3 separate regions of the Homo sapiens genome follow, and regions 2 and 3 are each linked to region 1. Evidence: promoter capture Hi-C in 16 types of primary human blood cells and fetal thymus (Javierre and others, 2016). All regions are on one chromosome and are shown on one strand. Each heading gives the region's core, a stretch centred on a gene start or on the middle of the fragment in contact. The rest is flanking DNA. Distances are from core to core; before and after follow the strand shown.

Region 1 (2,708 bases), core at 138-2,637:
AGGCGTGAGCCACCGCGCCCGGCCTACTGCTCACTCTTTGGGTCCACTCTGCTTTCATGAGCTGTAACACTCACCGTGAAGATCTGCAGCTTCACTCCTGAGCCCAGCGAGACCACGAGCCCACCGGGAAGAACGAACAACTCCAGAGGCTCTGCCTTAAGAGCTGTAACACTCACCGCCTAGGTCTGCAGCTTCAATCCTGAGCCAGCGAGACCACGAACCCACCAGAAGGAAGAAACTCCGAACACATCTGAACATCAGAAGTAACAAACTCCAGACGCACCACCTTAAGAGCTGTACCCACTCACCGCGAGGGTATGCGGCTTCATTCTTGAAGTCAGTGAGACCAAGAACCCACCAATTCCAGACACACTATGGGCTCACAGCGTGTACTCGCGCACACGCAGTCAGGTGTGGATGTACACCCGCGCACACCCAGGCACATGTACACCCGCGCGCTCACACACCCCATCCAGCTACAGCAGAATTCTGGCCAGGCTGTTGACCGCACACCTGCTGCCTCCTTGGCCACCCTGTCCACACAGTAGCCCGATCGACCCCCGTGGCGGCCGAGACCCAGGCCCATCCGCAGCCCTGAGACCTCCCTAGGGATTGCACCCAGCAGCCAGTCACCGGCCTCCGCGGCCTGGCCAGTTGAGGGTGGCCGTGACCGCGGGGCCAGGAGCGCCGCCACATCTCGGGGCAAATGGCGCGGGGGAAGAGTTTCCTCCTCAGCCTCCCCGTCTCCGATCGCTCCGCAAACTCCAGAGCGAGGCACGCGCCTTTAAAGGCAGGTCCGCGGCTCTCCCACGTCCTGGCGCCCGGTTTTCCGCACCCAGTGTCCCCACAGCTGTGCCCGGGCACAGAGGCGCGGCCAGACCGCACTCCGCGGGCTGCAGGTGTCCCGGCCTCTGGCGGCGCCGGTGCGGCCCGGAGGTGGGAGCCCGCGGAGCCACTGCAGTAGCTGGAGTCCCGCCGAGTCCCCAGCCCCAAGGCAGGGCAGGAGCGCGCACCGGCCGGAGGTCCATGCTGAGCATCGCCCGCGCCGGTGCCCGGCAGCCTCTCCAACTGTGTGGTCCCCGCGCGGGCAGAGAGGCACGGACTGCAGGCCGTGGGCAGCTCCATCTTCCCGCGTCCTCCTCCTCTGGCGCTGCCCGCTGTCTCCCGCCTTCCCTCTGCTCCCCGCTCGCCTCCGCCTCAGCGCCCCGCTGACCTCGCCTCCTCCCCTCTGCTCTTTGTCCCTGCACTCTCCCCTCCTCGGTCCTCTGACCCCCCCGCCCTCACCTCCTCCCCTCCTCTCTCCCCTGCCCGCCCCGCGCTCTCCCACCGCTCCCGCCGCCCCCGCCGCCGCGGCTGCCACTCCGCCCCCCGCGCCGCACGGAGCTTCAGTAATAACCCCGGCGCGGCGGCGGAGTCGCTGTGGGGAATCCTCCCGCGCTCTGCCTGGGTCGGGTCCTCCCTGCCCGCTCGCACGCTGCCGGCCGGGGACCCTCCGGTGGCCCCTAGCCCCTCGGAGCGCTCCTGGATGAAGCCCCGCGCGCGCGGATGGCGGGGCTTGGCGGCGCTGTGGATGCTGTTGGCGCAGGTGGCCGAGCAGGTGAGTCCCGGGCGCTCCCACCAGCGCGGAAACCGCGGGTCCGGACAGCTGGAGGCGAGTCCCCCGCGGCTCCTCTCCCGCGGACCCCGCCGTCTCACCGCGATGTCGCCGCTGTTTTCCGCAGGCACCTGCGTGCGCCATGGGACCCGCAGCGGCAGCGCCTGGGAGCCCGAGCGTCCCGCGTCCTCCTCCACCCGCGGAGCGGCCGGGCTGGATGGAAAAGGGCGGTAAGTCCGTGAGGTGGGGGCTTCTAATCCTTGCCATTTAGCAGCTCGTAATCTCCGTGCCGCTGGTTTATTAGGTGCTGTGAATGTTCACGACTCTGTGGAACCCTACTTTTAAGATGCTGTTGTGAACTTTTTTTTTTTTTAACTGTATGAGCGAGCCCCGATGAGTGGATTTCCACCAATATTTACATTTTATTCCCTGGCAAAACGGTTTGCCAGAGTTATTGATATAACATTAGGAAAAAGGTGAGGAAGTTCATTTTATTTTATTCTAAAGAGCTTAGGAAGAATCTAAAGCTATTAATGTATGCATCAAAGCCGTCATAAAGAGCAAATTACTTTCTTTTCCGTCCCCTTCTACATCCTCGGATCCTCCTTCCCGTCCCCAACCTTTCCTCCTTCTCCTCCTTTATAGATTAAAATATTCCTCTATCGTTGCTTATTCTCAGTGAAGGAGATAAAAGAAGCGCTTAGCATCTCAATACCAAAGTTAATGCTCCAACAATCAGGGCGTACTTCAAACATAATAGTGCCTGAAATGGCTAATCAGCTGATTGTGACACCATCAGCAACGTTCATATCCTGGGCCACAATTTGACATGAGGGCAAGTCTTATTCTTTTTCAATGCATGCTTTTACTTCTGCCACTTACAAGTGACATTTGGAAATTTGCTGTCTTATGGAAAGGGATCTCTGTGTCTTCATACTGCATCAGGTAAATGAGAACGCAGGTGTGTCGCACTGGTTGCTAGGTGGTTTTTTAACCTGAACCCATCCAATGACAGTTAATAAATATTATTTTGCATTGTTACCAACAATAAATTGCCGTATCAAATGTTAATATTAATTGACTTTTATAGGAAGAACTAGGTTTCATTCTCTCA
Region 2 (2,708 bases), core at 63-2,562, 1.6 Mb after region 1:
GTTCTCAGGAGTTATTAACCAAGGCTTTTTCCCTCCACAGACAGCAGGATCAAGATCAAAGAGCGAATAGCCACATGCAATGGGGAGCAGACGCAGAACCGAGAGCCCGAGTCTCCCTATGGCCAGCGCTTGACTTTGTCGCTGTCCAGCCCCCAGCTCCTGTCTTCAGGCTCCTCGGCCTCTTCTGTGTCTTCACTTTCTGGGAGTGACGTTGTAAGTGCCCTCCCCTCCTCCGTGTGTCTGTTGGACAGTTTGTGTCTCTGGTAAATGTCCATAGCCGCGAGCTTAAAATCTCCCCCTTGGTTTTGCTCAGGTTTTGTTTCCTTGTATGTGTGTGGAGGTGGGTGGGGGGCAGCCCCGTGATGTGGGCACCAGGCTTCCTTTCCCCTGCCGTGAACCTTCAGAACCTGTCTGTGCGACTCATGCGGCTGTCGAGGGCAGTAATCCTCTAAATGGTTGAACTACAGTGGACTTCCTTGAGTAGTTTTTAAAAATTTATTTGAAGATTAAAAAAAAAATTAAATCCAAGTATCTCTTCTGTATTTCCTTTAACATTCTTTTTCAGTTGTGATGAAATTACTTGAAGGAAGCCTGGGTAGGTTTGGGCTGCCTGTTCAGAAGTTAGACTTAATTTGAATAACCTTTCATAGCCAGCCTGGATGCAGGCGTTTCTTTTCATAGCTTTAAGGAAGTAGTAGTGCACCTTTGTGGTACAGCTGTCCTTTTTGTTTTTTGTACCGGGTTCAAGGATTCAGACACACCGCCCTGCACAACGCCCAGTGTTTACCAGTTCAGTCTGCAAGCGCCAGCTCCTCTCATGGCCGGCTTACCCACCGCCTTGCCAATGCCCAGTGGCAAACCTCAGCCCACCACTTCCAGAACACTGATCATGACAACCAACAATCAGGTACGTGGCCCTCTGGCACCCTTCCCGCTGGTGGCCCCTGGGAACAGCATCCGAGCTGTGATATGCACTAGAGGAGATTGATGGTCCTTTGAATTAGAAGAGTAACTTTTTGAGTATTTGGCCATTGGTGTGTTGTTCTAGGAAATCCTCTCTTTTTTGTGGTGTTGAGGTCCCCCATGTATAGTTTCAGCAGCGAGGACACTGTGGTTCTTGAGTGCTGCCGTGGCTTTTCACGGGGGCCAGGTTGACTGCCTTCCTGCAAGTTTCCTCACTGCCCCAGCATGAGACTGCTGTCGAGGGTCATCTTGAGAGAGCGACTCAGTCACGACCCACTTAGCTGGGCGCCAAGCCGTGCCAGACACTTGTCCCTACTTCCTCTCAGAATCTCAATGAAAGTTTTAATGTGAACTTATTAGACTTTTTTCATGTTTGAAATTAGGCATAATTTCTAAGGCTTTTTCTGTTGGAATATACTGTTTTTAAAATTTAGATAAAATTAGAAATCTAAAGGATAATTTTATAAATACTAAATTTTGTATCTACTTGCGATTATACATCACTTGAATATGTGTGGGTATAAAACCCAACATGTTAATTGACTTAAAACCATTTTCTGAAATGTGGGGTATAATTTGAGCATAAAGCTATGTAGGTACATGCAAAAGTGTTTTGACTCATTTCTTGGAGTTTTGCACTCTGCTCTGGGGAAGACATTCTCACAGGATCCACCGTGATTCTGGCGGAGCTTCTGGGATGCTGGCTCTGTAATGACCCACAGAGCTGATGAGCAGAGCCATGGCCCAGCCGGACACCGTAACGTGTCTAATTGCAGCATAAGTGTAAAATTCAGGGGCAATTATTTACACTCTTAAAATGAATTATACCACAGATAAACTTGGTCGCCTTTTTATGGTCATCACAGTGGCCCTGACGTCCTGGCCATGTGTCACAAAGGTGTTTGTTTTAACCACCCACAAGCCTTGGGGCCCTTGAGAGCCCAGTGCGGCTGCTGAGCTACAGAGCCACACTCTGCGGCTGCTTGTGTGGTTCGAGTGTGAAGTCCAGGGACGCTGAGGGTTTATAGGTTTTTATCTAAGAAGACTCTTGGCCACAGTCAATCTCCAGAGGTTGTTGGGGTAAATGCACGGGATGCCAAGATGCAACCAGGTCAGTATTGCAAGTCTGAGAAAAGGGGTTCTCGTTAGCGCACTTCTGCTGCTGACAGTAACGGGTGATGCTGACATAGAAGCAGCCTGGGACCTGGACAGCAGGCAAGGAAGGAACTGCCAGCCGTCCCACGGCCTCTCAGGCCACCAGTTGGGCCAGCCTTGGGCTGTGACCCCTGAGTTCAGCGTGTGAGTAGGGGGTTCACCACGGGGGTGACGGTTGTTCTTCTGATGACTCTAATGTCTTGATCGTTTGATCTTCAATGAGTTTCAAACTTTATGACTTGGATTACTGGGCATACTTTATATGCCAGTTGCTGTTTTAGAATACGAAGTATTTCCAATTCAAAGCACAATATTGTTAGGTAATAGTAAAACAGACTGCTCTATGGAGCCCACATGCAACTGTGCCATTTATCAGCTGCCCTTTGGTGGTGCTGAGCTTAGAAGCCGGATGGTTTTCCTCTGATTGCTTTGGTACCCATGGCCGTCTCTCATTTTGTTCCTAGACCAGGTTTACTATACCTCCACCGACCCTAGGGGTTGCTCCTGTTCCTTGCAGACAAGCTGGTGTAGAAGGAACTGCGTCTTTGAAAGCCGTCCACCACATGTCTTCCCCGGCCATTCCCTCAGCG
Region 3 (2,708 bases), core at 136-2,635, 1.4 Mb after region 1:
GGTAATCTTGCTTTTGATAACTCAAAGTCAACTGATTGGCAGCCTTCTCATGGGCATGATGTCCCATCACATTCTGAGGGGCTGCCTGCCACCCAGGGAAGGGGATTACCCAGGGCATACCCACCAGGGAACAGGAATCCTGAAGGCCATCTTAGAACTCTGCCCATCACACCTTCCCATGCCCATAAGATGTTTCACTGCATCTCATTTACCCGAAAGCACCCAGGTGATAACAGGTGCACACTGAGGTTCTCCACTTAGTTTGTGGAGCCTCGGGGGAAAAAAGGTTTTAGTCTGGGGTGTTGAAGGAATAAAGATGAGTCTTGACTTTTCCGAAGGGCCCTGCCTCTGTGTAACACCTGGGAAGCATCACTTGTAAGACACGCGCATTTGGAAGGGCCAGCACGAGCTGCTCCATCTCACTGGACAATGAGGTCCCTGGTGGTTTCCAATTAGGCTGAGCTCATTGGCTTAATAGTCCGGCCCCAGCTGTTGCCTGGGCTTGAAAGAAAGAAAACTGGGTCAAGCAAATGATTTCAGGCATTCAGAGCAGTTATTTCCACTAACCAGCCTGTCTGCCCTCTGGATACTGTCAGTGCTTTGAGAATGGGCTGGGTTATAGTTTCTCCACCATGGCTGCCCATCAAGACCACCCAGGGACCCACCCACCTAGACCTGTCATCTTAGGTTCTCTAAGGTGGGCCCAGGGTTTTCTCAAAGCCACTCGGGTGATTCTAATGGCCAGCCAGGGTGGAGAACCACTAGATTGGATAATCATTTGGGAAACCACTTCTCACAAGATGAAAATTAAAATACCAGTTGACTTTGTTGAAGGGGATTCAGTTTATTAGAGCAAGAAGTAGAGCCCTGCAGGGCGTGGAAATGCATTTTGGAAAGAAATGCAAATGGGGAGGAAATGGCTTGTTTCAGGACATCCAGATGCATTCTATGAGTGCGCATCGAGTACTCCCAAGTGCAGGGTGCTAAGACACAGACAGTTGTGCACAAGCTCAACAGGGGCCCTGCCTCCTGGAGCTGATAGTCCCCTGGAAATCAGACGGGAAGAAGGGGAAAGACGGGAAGGGGAAAGACGGGAGAGGGAGGGGATAATACAGTAGCAACACAATGTGTCCTTCAAGCTGCTAAGATCCTGAGCTTGTTTTTAAACTGGAGCACAGCAGAATTCAACTCTGCCTTTAGGTGAGAAAAATCACATCACATTTGTGTTAAGAGAAAACACATCCTGAAAATTTATGAATGAAATGATAGTGTCTCGTGTGTGTGTGTGTGTGTGCATCAGGGGACCAGTCTGCATAGATATAACTAGATTAGACAAAGGTTGTCACTTGTTGGAGCTGGGTGACAGCTGCATGAGGAAGGGTCATTGTGCCATTCTCCCCACTTTTGTATGATTGATATTTTCCATAAAAGAAACTTAACTAAATTAAATTAATAAATCAAGAGACAAAAGAATGACATATTCTGATGGTTAATACAGTGTCAACTTGATTGGACTGAAGGATGCAAAGTATTGATCCTGGGCGTGTCTGTGAGGGTGTTGCCAAAGGAGATTAACATTTGACTCAGTGGGCTGGGAAAGGTCGACCTACCCTTAATCTGGGTGGACACCATCTAATCAGCTGCCAGTATGGCTAGAACATAAAGCAGGCAGTAAAATATGAAAAGACTACACGGGCCTAGCCTCCCAGCCTACATCTTTCTCTCATGCCAGATGCTTCCTGCCCTCGAACATTGGACTCCAAGTTCTTCAGTTTTGGGACTCAGAATGGCTCTCCTTGCTCCTCAACTTGCAGAGGGCCTGTTGTGGGACCTTGTGATCATGTGGGTTAATACTTAATAAACTCCCCTTTATATGTGTGTGGGTGTATATATATATATATAAAGGAAACAGGGGATAGCCATGTTACAAATGCACTGAAGACCCCTGCTGATATATATATACACACACATATATATCCTATTATATATACACATATATATCCTATTATATATACACATATATATCCTATTATATATACACATATATATCCTATTATATATACACATATATATCCTATTATATATAATATATAATATATCCTATTAGTTCTGTCCCTCTAGAGAATCCTGACTAATACACATATCAATTAAAATTTTAAAGGTATATTTAAAAAAAAAAAGCTAAGAGTTCAAAGTGGAGCAGAGAACTGTTGTATGAAACCCTTAGCAATACTCAACTTTTCAAACTCTGCACATTACTACCTGGCACACGTATAAGTCTAGAAAGCAGACTTCTGCAAAACCCCATGTCGGGCTGCGAGCCCTGCCACAGCCTGTTGGCTGACGACATGGAGATTATCTGTTGTGGCGTGTGCCTCCCTTAGACACAGCACGAGTGGGGAGCAGCCTCAGGGTCCACAGGCCTGAACCCCCAGCACTGGGTACAGTGTGCAGCCCAGAGAGGGCCTGAAAAACCAATGGCTATTTACAGAGCAGAAATGAATCAACACAAGCACTCATTTTCTCCCCGTACCAAGTCCGGTCAAGCCCTTGTGGAAAACGTTTCCTGTTTGGGGATCCACATTTCCAAAGAACACATTGGACAGAGTCAAGAAGAAAGTCCTTAGCCAAGGCTAACAGCACAGGCTGGGGGAGGGGAACTGTACAGGGCCACGCTGCTTCTCCACAGCACACCCAATGGAGGACAA

Evidence for each region. Contacts are between HindIII fragments. The CHiCAGO score rates a contact against its expected background, and 5 or more counts as called.
Region 2: a fragment that was not itself captured here is called in contact with the fragment with the promoter of ADAMTS16 in region 1 in 3 of 17 cell types (total B cells, naive B cells and naive CD8 T cells); the score reaches 10.8 in total B cells.
Region 3: a contact is called between a fragment that was not itself captured here and the fragment with the promoter of ADAMTS16 in region 1, in 1 of 17 cell types (M2 macrophages). The highest score is 6.4, in M2 macrophages.

What each region holds. Positions count from the first base shown.
Region 1 is chr5:5,138,943-5,141,650 of GRCh38, forward strand. It overlaps ADAMTS16 (ADAM metallopeptidase with thrombospondin type 1 motif 16), which reads left to right and starts at 1,388. Exons shown (of 23, transcript NM_139056.4): 1 at 1,388-1,597; 2 at 1,722-1,824. The coding sequence starts at 1,526. It overlaps ADAMTS16-DT (ADAMTS16 divergent transcript), which reads right to left and starts at 1,112. Exons shown (of 4, transcript NR_109915.1): 1 at 1,014-1,112. RefSeq lists an enhancer at 594-1,160. The HindIII fragment of the contact is 3,896 bases long and covers 1-2,708 here.
Region 2 is chr5:6,750,291-6,752,998 of GRCh38, forward strand. TENT4A (terminal nucleotidyltransferase 4A) reads left to right here. Exons shown (of 13, transcript NM_006999.6): 10 at 41-213; 11 at 749-907; 12 at 2,583-2,708. Among named protein-coding and RNA genes, the nearest start is that of TENT4A, 38 kb to the left of the region's middle. The HindIII fragment of the contact is 7,499 bases long and covers 1-2,708 here.
Region 3 is chr5:6,568,126-6,570,833 of GRCh38, forward strand. No RefSeq gene overlaps it. Among named protein-coding and RNA genes, the nearest start is that of LINC01018, 13 kb to the right of the region's middle. The HindIII fragment of the contact is 5,226 bases long and covers 1-2,708 here.